4 separate regions of the Homo sapiens genome follow, and regions 2, 3 and 4 are each linked to region 1. Evidence: promoter capture Hi-C in 16 types of primary human blood cells and fetal thymus (Javierre and others, 2016). All regions are on one chromosome and are shown on one strand. Each heading gives the region's core, a stretch centred on a gene start or on the middle of the fragment in contact. The rest is flanking DNA. Distances are from core to core; before and after follow the strand shown.

Region 1 (2,700 bases), core at 174-2,673:
GTCAGGTTTGATTCTGATGCAGGCAGCCATGTGCGGCAGGGCTTTCGCACGGTTGCAAGCGCACACCTGGCCGGATGCTGGCTGCACCACACACTGCCAAGTACAAACTCCCCGAAAAACAGGTGGATTCGGAAACCAACAGCGCCCGGGTCAGAACTCTGGGCCAGTCCAAAACCTGACAACATCTGCGTTCCTTGCAGGTATTTTCGAACGTAAGCCCGACGCTAGGCAGTGCTGTTAGAAAGTGATTTGGAAGAGCGCTTCCGAGCCACGGCGCGCCCTCCGGGGGAGCGCACCGGAGCAGGTGCGGGCGAGCCCCGCGCCCGGGGAGGTCAGGAATTCCCCAGCCACACCAGATCCAACCGGACGCCCCAGAACGGGGACGGTCCCCGGAGTCCGCCTCCCAACCTGGGTGAGAAAACACCTCCGTCCCTCCGCTGCCTGAGCGCTCGAATTTACAACTCAGGGCGCTTTGTGCCGCGGAGGCCCGGCGGACGCGAGGTCGGGACAATGCACGGGGCCGGGGTCCCGGCGGCCGCCCCTCGCCCGCGGACCCGGCATGACTTTGCAGCCTCGCAGGCCGGGGCCGGGAGGCCAGGCCGAGGCCCGGCGGCCGCCCGGGGCCTGGTTAAAGATGGCGAGCCCCTCGCGTGGCTCCCGCGGCTCCCCCGGCCACAATGAAAGGCGCCCCCCGGCCCCGCCGCGGCCGGCCCTCGGGCCTCACCTTCCATCTCCATGTCCTCGGGCTCGCTCAACTGCTGCTCGCCCGCTTTCTGCTGCTGCTGCTGCTGCTGGTGGTTCATGTCGGCCGCGGCCTGGGCCTCGCCTGCGGCCGGGGGCCGGGGCTGCGAGCCCGGCGGGCGGGCGGCGGCGAGCCGGGGCGGCGGCGGCGGCGGCGGCGGCGGGGCGGCCTCCTCCTCCTCCTCCCGCGCGTCGTCGGCGACGGCGGCCCCGGGGCGGCCCGCGGCGGGCGGCGGCGGCGGCAGGGAGACGCGCACGTACTTGCTCGCGATTCGCCCAATCTCGGCGCCGAGGCGGGCGGGCGGCCGGCGGGCCGGGCCGGGCGGCCTCGTCGCTCGCTGCGGCCGCCGCCGCCGCCGCCGCGGGGCCCGCCTCCCGCCGCCGGGGCCGGGGCCGGGGCTGCGGGGCCGCGGGCCGGCCGGGGGCGGAGGGCGGCCGGTCGGGGGCCGCGGAGTCAGCCCCGCCTCGGGCCGGGCGCGGCGGACGGGAGGCCTGGCCGGCCGCGGCGGGCCTGCGGGCCCTGGGGCCGGCGGGAGCGGCGGAGCGGGCGGGCGACGGGCCGGCCGCGTTCCGAGAGCCGCGGCCTCCGCCTCCTCGGCGTCGTCGTCGGGGCTCCGGCAGCGGACGCGGCGCCCGGCAGCTCGGCTCGGCTCGCTCTCAAAATGGCGGCGGCGTGAAATGTCACATCCGCATGGGGGGCCGCGGAGCGAGCGAGCGAGCGAGGAGAGCAAGCGGGCGGGCGCCGAGCCGGAGGGCGGAGCGGGAGCGCAGGGCGGAGCACGGGAGGCGGAGCAGGGAGCGACCCGCCTGCCGCCGCCGCCGAGGCCCGCCTGCCCCGCAGCGCCGCGCCCCGGCACCGCCTGCGCCGCAGCCCCGCGGCGGACCCTCGGCGCTCCCTGCCCCCGGGCCCTGGGGGCCGAGGCGGGCCGCCCGGTGACTTAGCCCTGCGGAGGTGAACCGGAATCCTTCCCATCCTGGGGAGCCGGACACCCCGAAAGACCCAGGAGCGGCAATGAGGAGGGGCCCAGAAGCCACCCGGCAGCCGGGGTTCAGGTCCCAGCCTAGCGCGCCGGGGCGAGCGCTGGAGGTTGCCCGGGGACTGCTCGGGATAGGGCCCGGAAGGGAGCTTGGGGTCAGCGCCTAGAAGTTCCTGTTATTGTCGTTACTTACCCTTGCCCGCTGACGTGCACTTTTTCACCCAGTATCTACCGTGGAAGAATTTATTTTCTCACTGTCAGCCTAATCTGGCAAAGTTTGGCTCCTCAAGAGCAACCCCAGGCGGGGCGCAGCTGCTCACACCTGTGATCCCAGCACTTTGGGAGGCCGAGGTGGGAGAATCACTTGAGGCCAAGAGTAAGAGACCACCCTCTCTACAAAGGTTTTGGGTTTTGTTTTTATATTTTTGAAATGTATTTTTAATTAGCCGGGTGTTGTGCCTCCTGCCTGTAGTGACAGCTACTTGGGAGGCTGAGGCTGGAGGTTCGCTTGGGAGGTTGACTGAGGCTGCAGTGATCAAAGATGGCGCCACTGCACTCCAGCCTGGGCAACAGAATGAGACCCTGTCTCAACTAATAGTGATAATAAAATAATAATATAAAAATAAAACAAGCCCACTACCCTTCACATTTGGTATTAATTTACTTCCTTCCTATCAACCCAGTCTGGGATCATTCACCCGGGGCCTCCCTATTCCAGGAGACATTTGGTGAATATATCTCCTGTCCTGTCTCATTCAGTCATTGACAGACTGATGATTAGGGTCTCAACTTTTCCAGTTAATCAAGGCAGTGTGGGTCAATAAAAATGGAGCAAACCGATATACATTTCTACACATCTCAGGGGAGAATAGAATTTCACCCTAACAAGGCCAGAAGATTGTGGTACCTGTCTTCTCTCCATCTCCCTATACCCGCTTTCCCTGCATTTTTCTCCCATTTATGTACTGTTCATCTCCCTTCC
Region 2 (2,700 bases), core at 86-2,585, 310 kb before region 1:
CCACACTGTGAGGAGTGAAGTTGCAACATGTCATCCCTGGTTAAGAGCACAAACTCTGGGTTGGATGTGGTGGCTCATACCTGTGATCCCAGCACTTTGGGAGGCAAAGGCAGGAGGATTACTTGAGGACAGGAGTTTGAGATCAGCCTGGGCAACATACAGAGACCCTATCTCTAAAAAACTTTTTTTTAATTAGCCAGGTGTGTCATGCACCTGTACTCCCAGCTACTCAGGAGGCTGGGTCGGGAGCATCGCCTAAGCGAAGGAATTCTAGGCTGCAGTGAACTGTGATTGTGCCACTGCACTACACCCTCACAGCCTTACAGACAGAGACGCTATTTCTAAAGAAAAAAAAACCCACCAACTCCGGAGTTGAGCAAGCCAGGGTTTAAATCCTGCCTCTGCTGTGTAACAGCAATGACCTTGGACAAATGACCTAGCCTCTCTGAACCTGAGTTTCCTCACCTGTAAAATAGTAAAACTTCTTGATAGGTTGGTGAATGGGTACAAACTTAGGGAAGAAATACCTTCTAATGTTTGGTAGCAGACTAGGGTGGCTACAGTTAGCAACAATATATTGTGTATTTCAAAGTTGCTAGAAGAGAGAACTTGAAATGTTCCCAACACATAAAATTATAAATTCTCAAGGTGGTGAATACCTCAAATACCCTGGCTTGATAATTACACATTCTGTGTATATAAAACACATTCATATGCACCCCATAATATGCAAAATTTCATTTATCAATAAATGAAAAAAAGCCAGATGTGGCTCATGCGTGTAATCCCGGCACTTTGGGAGGCCAAGGCAAATGGATCACCTGAGGTCAGGAGTTCAAGACCAGTCTGGCCAACATGACAAAACCCCGTATCTACTAAAAATACAAAAAAATAGCTGGGCATGGTGGCGTGCCTGTAATTCCAGCTACTCTGGAGGCTGAGGCAGGAGAATTGGAACCTGAGAGGTGGAGTTTGCAGTGAGCTAAGATTGCACCATTGCACTCCAGCCTGGGTGACAGAGCGAGACTCCGTCTCAAAAAATAATATAAATAAATAAATGGGAAAAAAAGAGGGTAAGAATTCTTTCTTCACAGAATTATTGTAAAGATCATACTAAATGGGCCAGGCGCAGTGGCTCATACCTGTAATCCCAGCACTTTGGGAGGCCGAGGTGGGCAGATCATGAGGTCAGGAAATCAAGACCATCCTGGCTAACATGGTGAAACCCCGTCTCTACTAAAAATACAAAAAATTAGCCAGGCGTGGTGGCGGGCACCTGTAGTCCCAGCTATTCGGGAGGCTAAGGCAGTAGAATGGCGTGAACCCGGGAGGCGGAGCTTGCAGTGAGCTGAGATCGAGCCACTGCACTCCAGCCTGGGCAACAGAGCAAGACTCTGTCTCAAAAAAAAAAAAAAAAACATACTAAATGATCCATGAAAGATGCCTAGAGTCATACTTGGCCCTGGTGAAGTTTTCATTAAATTGCAGACTTAGTCCTAAGGTAGAGTTTTTGGCTTGGCGGAATTTTCAACTTGCACCTTGCAGCCTGTGTGATTTGTAAGGTTGGATTGTCTCACATCATCACCTGCTAGAGACATCACTGGGAGCAATCTCTCCCTCTCTCTATAAATAAAAGGGATCCTGTTTGCCACCCTATCCTGAAGCAATAGCTGGACAAAAAGCAAATCTGAAAAGTCAAATGGAAAAAGCCTGACTTCAATTTCAGGTTCCGTGTTGTACACGAGCATGATTTTGGAGGACCTGGGCAACCCTCAGAGAGAGAGAAAAGTCATGCTTTTGTTCTTACTCATAAGTGGGAGTTGAACAATGAGAACACAAGGACATAGGGAGGAGAACATCACACACCGGGGCCTTTTGGGGGATGGGGGACGAGGAGGGAGAGCGTTAGGACAAATACCTAATGCATGCAGGGCTTAAAACCTAGATGACGGGTTGATAGGTGCAGCAAACCACCATGGCACACATATACCTATGTAACAAACCTGCACATTCTGCACATGTATCCCAGAACTTAAAATAAAACAAGCAAAAAAGAAAAGTCATGCTTTATCCTGCTGATCCCAGCTCCACTCCACTTCCACGGGCTGCCAGTTGGGGGAGAAATGCTGCCAGGGACACAGCCTCAGAGTTCATGCTCTTCAGTATAGAGTCCAGATAAAAGTGAGATGTAGGCCGGGCGCGGTGGCTCAAGCCTGTTATCCCAGCACTTTGGGAGGCCAATGTGGGAGGATCATTTGCGGTCAGGAGTTCAAGACCAGCCTGGCCAACATGGTGAAACCCCATCTCTACCAAAAATACAAAAATTAGCCGGGCGTGGTGGTGCACAGCTGTAATCCCAGCTACTCAGGAGGCTGAGGCACAAGAATCGCTTAAACCGAGCAGGTCGAGGTTGCAATGAGCCGAGATCATGCCGCTGCACTCCAGCCTGGGCAACAGAGGGAGACTCCGTCTCAAAAAAAAAAAAAAAAAAAAAAAAAAGTGAGATGTAGTGTGTGCCCTTGCCCTTGCTTGCTGTGAAACCCTCATGTGTGGCCAGGTGCAGTGGCTCACACCTGTAATCCCAGCACTTTGGGAGGCCGAGGTAGGAGGATCACTTGAGCCAGGAGTTTGAGACCAGCCTGGGCAACATAGTGAGACCCATTCTCATGTTATTTAAAACAAATAATTATTTTAAAAAAA
Region 3 (2,700 bases), core at 29-2,528, 270 kb before region 1:
CTACTTGGGAGGCTGAGGCAGGAGAATCACTTGAACCCAGAAGGCAGAGGTTGCAGTGAGCCGAGATTGCACCACTGCACTCCAGCCTGGGTGATAGAGTGAGACCCTGTCTCAAAAAAAAAAAAAAAAAAGTTCAACGTCATTTGTGTTGTTTCTTCTATTATCTTCTGGAAGCTTTCATGTTTTGCCTTTCATATTTATCTCCAGCATCCACCTAGGGTTGATTTTTATGTATTGTATTAGGTAGAATCATGATTAATTTTTTCCTACATAGATAGTTCATTTGGCCCAGTATCACTGCCTCCATTGTCAAAAATCAAGTGTCCATATATGCATGTATGTGTTTCTATTCTCTGTTCGGTTCTATTAATCCGTGTGTTTAATCTTTGCCCCCATACCACATCTTGACTGCTGTAGCCTTAGAATATGATAGGCATTGCCTCGTTGCCCTCTAAAGAGACTGCACCAATCAAGACTTACTAACAATTTGACAAAAATGTATTGGGCTTCCAGTACAGTGCCAGATGGTATCATGATGGGAATTCAAGTCTAATCATATGCACAACTTCTACCTTAAAGTGTATAGTCTTATAAGTGACAAGACATGAACCAAATAATTCCACAAATAGAGGTAACATATGAATGTGATGGGGCCACAAAGGGGAGCTGTGTAGGATTCTGTGCTAAAAGGAAGATTTGATCTGGTGGGAGAGGTTCAGGGAAGTCTTCTCTGAGAAAGTGAGTCATGAACTGATATCAGAAGTGTGAGTAGAAATGAAGGAATCAGAAGCAAGGGAAAAGCATTTTGGGTGGTGGGAACAGCATCTGCAAAGACTGAGTAGAAGCCTTCCCAGGACAAACAGTAGATCCTCGTGGCCAAACCCAGAGTCAGGAAGGTGCTATGCACAGAAATTGGAATGGTGATAGGGACCAGACCTCAAGGCCTTTAAACTACATTCAACAGCTGGTTTTTATACCTAGAACAACTATCCTAAGAACAATAACAAGAGTCACCTTGAATATTCCAGATTTAGGGTAGTTCCAAGAGCCTTTTCAGCACAACTAGGGTTGCTTCTTGGCAGGAGAAGAATGTGTATGGCAACCCCTGGAGTGACACATCAGTTTTATTAAGCTTCATCTCCCAGCTCCTGGCACTGAACATTTCATTTTTGCTAGCAGTGGAAGCAACAGTTTTACTGTGCAGTCAGCCCAGGTTCTGGCAGCAGCAGCATCTGCCTGGCACCATCTCAGGTCTGGAACTCTTTTCTCCCCAGCCTGGCGAGTGTCTTGCTTGCTGGAGTGTCCCTTAAGGTGGACCTGGTGCCAGCCGCAGTGCTGTGAACTTGAACTGTTTCTCCTCATTCACCATCATCTCTACTCCTCACCCGTGGAGGCATGATTCCTACTCTATGGATAAGAACACAGAAGCTTAGAGAGCTTAAGTCACTTGCCTAAGACCACACACCTTCCAAAGGGCAAATATAAAAGTCTCCAACAATATATTTTTCTACATTTTTTGTGGTACTTTTTTCCTTTTCAAAATATAGAGTGAGTCATACTCATCAGGAATTTTACGTACAGAATGACAACATTTCTGGGGAGTAGGACAGGATTCTGAGATGTTTCCAATCTGTGCCTTGAGCGGATCCGATGATTTATCCAGATCTAAGACCCTCATCTCATTCTCGGCAGTGCCTTTTAAATTTGGCAGCCAACATGGGGTTTTGGTTCTTTCTGCACCAAGTGGAGTAATTAAGAAGGTTTTCATCAAGGTAAATATCTGCTGGGTTTCTATAGAATTGTGGGGAGGAAGTTGAATATACACCAGCACCCAAAATCTCATTAAATGGGTCTGCCCCTTGTTCCAGGACAGGAGAGCCAAACATAGCGGACAGGATTGATGTTGTTTTCATGAATGTAGGTGGCCGCTGTGTTCTTTGTGGGTTTTCAAGGTGGGAATTTGTTTGCAAATGAATGTATGAAGAAGCCAGGAGTTAACACTGCTTCAGGGAGGTTTTAGAGCCTGGGGGAAATAATGTTGTTTTAGAATTTTTAGAATAAGTATTGGCAGTGTGTTGGGGGAAAAAAAAAAACCCTGAAAAATAGAATACAGATTTCAGTTAAGCTCTCCCTTCGTCAAACCACACTTGCCCATATTGGCACATAGCTTGATGCTACAGCCACACCTCCTCTGTTTATTATCTACTTAGTGCTTGGTAATATACTGTGTACTATGAGTACCCTCTCTGGGAACCCCACAATAACCCTTTGATGTGGTTTCAAACCCATTTTACAGATGAGGGGCTATTACAGAACTTGCACCAGGTCCTCAGAAACCAAGTGAGGGAGTTGGGATTTGAACCCCTTCACCTGAACACTTGCACCTGCCTGCAGTTAATACATCACATTGGAGCAGATAACCTGCCACATTTCCTGGAGAGCAGGGTTCTCTGCTGCAACTGTGCTCCCCAGGGAACTTTTTTTTTTTTCCAAGACAGACTCTCACTCTGTTGCCTAGGTTGGAGTGCAGTGGCACAATTTTGGCTCAATGCAATCTCTGCCTCCTGGGTTCAAGCAATTCTCCTGCCTCAGCTTCCTGAGTAGCTGGAATTACAGTCGTGCACCACCACACTCGGCAACATTTTTGTATTTTTAATAGAGAGGGGGTTTCGCCATGTTGGCCAGGCGGGTCTCAAACTC
Region 4 (2,700 bases), core at 42-2,541, 400 kb before region 1:
TTCATCCCATCACCCTGGTTTTTTTTTTTTTTTTTTTTTGAGATGGAGTCTCACTCTGTCACCCAGGCTGGAGCGCAATGGTGCGATCTCGGCTCACTGTAACCTCCACCTCCTGGGTTCAAGTGATTCTCCTGCCTTAGCCTCCCAAGTAGCTGGGATTACAGGCGCGTGTTACCACAGCTGGCTATTTTTTTTTTTTTTGTATTTTTAGTAGAGATGGGGTTTCACCATGTTGGCCAGGCTAGTTTCGAACTCCTGACCTCAGGTGACCTGCCTGTCTTGGCATCCCAAAGTGCTGGGATTACAGGCATGAGCCATGGCGCCCGGCCTCATCACCCTGTTTTGTTTTCTTCATAACACTAATCACTGTCTGAATCTCTCAGATAGATTATTGGTTCATGGGTTTATCATCTGTTCCCATGTGAGCTAGGAAGGGTGGAGATTTTCTTGGCCACCCCCATGAATGTGTCCCCAGGCCCTGGAACAGTCTCTGACACTGTAGGTATCTGGCAAGCATTTATCAAATGCATGAATGGATGGGCGAATGAATGAGCTTATTCTGTGTTGTCAGTTCCTGAGGTGCACACATGTTTTGGTTTGTTATTGTCCATTATTGCTCGCTTAGCAGAGTGTCTCAGCATGTCCCAAGGTGGACGTGTGGGACCAGATGTCCTGAGCATCATAGGATGCGAGGAGCATCCCTGGCCTCTTCCCACTGGAGCTGCCGGTAATACCACTCCCCACACGCACTAAGAACAACCAAAACTGTCTCCAAACACTGCCAAATGTCAGGTGGGGGAGAGAATCGCCCCAGCTGAGAACTCTGGCCCTGCAGTATTTAATCCAGCACTTGGGCGCTAGGAGGGCTGAAAACGTGTCTCTTGACGAATTTGGGGATCAAATCCTGCCTCTGGAGCAGTTCCACAATACGACCAGCAGGTGGAAGCAGAGACCGCCCTTTCGGTAGCATGGTTGCCCTCACTTTGCAAAAACTTTGTTTTCCCCAGCATTGTAACTGATTTTCCAACAGCGCTCATTTAGCCCCATGTGGCCATGTGAGTAACCCACTCCTTTTGCGCCTTTCCGGATTAGACAGGGACGTCGCAGCAACGTCCTGAAAGGAGCAGACAGCCAGTAAAGAAGTGCAGGCGTTGGTGGAAGTAGGGGGAGGACCATCTTGGGATCAGGCAGTTCTGAAGTTTACTCCCAGTTGCGTCCCTTTCTCTCCTTATGCCCTTAGTCCAGTTATGTTAACCTGCCAGTGCCTCAGTTTCCTCATCTGTACCCTGCTTTGCTTATCTCCTAGTCCTCACCACGGGCTACGTATTTCATATGCCTCTCTCTCCTCAATCATGTGGCACCCCAGAGAGCAAGGTCTGGGTCTGGAGGAGTCATTGCCCCCCCAGTTGCTGGTGTGTACTGGCCTTCCTTTGAGTGTTTGTTGAATGACTGACTGACCGACTGGCGTGGAGAATAGCACAGGTGCATAGATGTGGATGTCAGCTATAATGATGACAATGCTGATGTCATGGTGGTGTCATGTCGTTGTGGTGGTGATGTCATGGCATGGTGGTGATGATGTCATGATGTTTGTTGAATGACTGACTGACCGACTGGCATGGAGAATAGCACAGGTGCATAGAAAGTACTCAGTGGGTGTCAGCTATGATGATGACAGTGTTGACGTCATGGTGATGATGATGTCATGATGAAGACGATGATGCCATATTGTTGATAATCGTGTTGTCATCTTTTAATCCACACCAGTATTCCCCAAACCATCAGCACCTCCCAGAGTTTCCTAAGCCAAAGGCTCCTCGGGCCCTCCCCTACATCTCATGACTTGGAATCTTGCAGGAACAGAATCTCAGCCATGGTTTTGGGTTAGAATAGGCTGGAGAGCTCTTAAAAAACACTGATGCCTGGACACCAGCCCTAGAGAATATCAGATCAAGGATGTAGACAGCAGCAGGATTTTTGGAAGATACCCAGGTGATTCTAAGAGCAGCAAGATGACAACCCTTCTCTGTCACTTAATAAACGCCCCACCTCGGCATTTATGCAAACAGTGGCTCTGGGCCAGAAGCCTCGGCATCGCCTGGAAGCCACTTAGAAATGTGAGTTTTTGGGCTTCACCCAGGCCTCCTGGCTCAGACACCCTGGGGGTGGCATCAGCCCGAGAGTATCAACAAGCCCATAGAGTCTGGGGCGCGCTAAATGTGAACAGCACTGCCCCAGGGGACCCGGATGGGGAGCCCATTCCCAGGGGCAGAACACCAGGATGAAAGGAGGGATGGATTTTTCTGGGGGAGGACGGAAAAGGTATGATTAGTCTTGAAGAGTGCTCTATCAATTGGCCAACCCCTTGGGAGTCTCGCAGCTTCATATTGTAGACCTAACCTGACCCCGTAGAAAGCCCATGTCATGCCAGAGTTATTTTAGAGCAAAAGGAACTCCAGGCCAGAGCTCCCCAGAGAGAGCTGAACGCATTACAGGGCCCAGGAGGTAGGGCACCCTCTCCCTTTCCCAGACCCACCAAGGAGCTGATCCAAGGGACATGGGTGAGGAGGAAATGAAGTCGGAGGGGGCGTGAGGACTTTGCAATCTGTAAAGCTCTGTGTGTGATTAAAGGATCGTTTTTATTTCTCGCGAAGCGGTTTGGCACTCCCTCGGGCTCCTCCAGGCCACACGGACACACAC

What was found. Contacts are between HindIII fragments. The CHiCAGO score rates a contact against its expected background, and 5 or more counts as called.
Region 2: a contact is called between a fragment that was not itself captured here and the fragment with the promoter of USP7 in region 1, in 3 of 17 cell types (neutrophils, non-activated CD4 T cells and monocytes). The highest score is 8.7, in neutrophils.
Region 3: a fragment that was not itself captured here is called in contact with the fragment with the promoter of USP7 in region 1 in 1 of 17 cell types (non-activated CD4 T cells); the score reaches 5.3 in non-activated CD4 T cells.
Region 4: a contact is called between a fragment that was not itself captured here and the fragment with the promoter of USP7 in region 1, in 9 of 17 cell types (total CD4 T cells, neutrophils, non-activated CD4 T cells and 6 more). The highest score is 12.8, in total CD4 T cells.

The regions. Positions count from the first base shown.
Region 1 is chr16:8,962,483-8,965,182 of GRCh38, forward strand. It overlaps USP7 (ubiquitin specific peptidase 7), which reads right to left and starts at 1,424. Exons shown (of 31, transcript NM_003470.3): 1 at 725-1,424. The coding sequence starts at 803. USP7-AS1 (USP7 antisense RNA 1) reads left to right here and starts at 231. Exons shown (of 2, transcript NR_184341.1): 1 at 231-412. RefSeq lists an enhancer at 1-331 and a silencer at 1,527-1,886. The HindIII fragment of the contact is 5,189 bases long and covers 1-2,700 here.
Region 2 is chr16:8,649,986-8,652,685 of GRCh38, forward strand. It overlaps a transcript of METTL22 not described here. Among named protein-coding and RNA genes, the nearest start is that of ABAT, 23 kb to the right of the region's middle. The HindIII fragment of the contact is 2,939 bases long and covers 1-2,700 here.
Region 3 is chr16:8,688,967-8,691,666 of GRCh38, forward strand. The region is part of intron 1 of ABAT (4-aminobutyrate aminotransferase); the gene reads left to right. Among named protein-coding and RNA genes, the nearest start is that of ABAT, 16 kb to the left of the region's middle. The HindIII fragment of the contact is 296 bases long and covers 1,131-1,426 here.
Region 4 is chr16:8,566,880-8,569,579 of GRCh38, forward strand. TMEM114 (transmembrane protein 114) reads right to left here. Exons shown (of 4, transcript NM_001146336.2): 4 at 2,621-2,700. Among named protein-coding and RNA genes, the nearest start is that of TMEM114, 22 kb to the right of the region's middle. The HindIII fragment of the contact is 2,900 bases long and covers 1-2,700 here.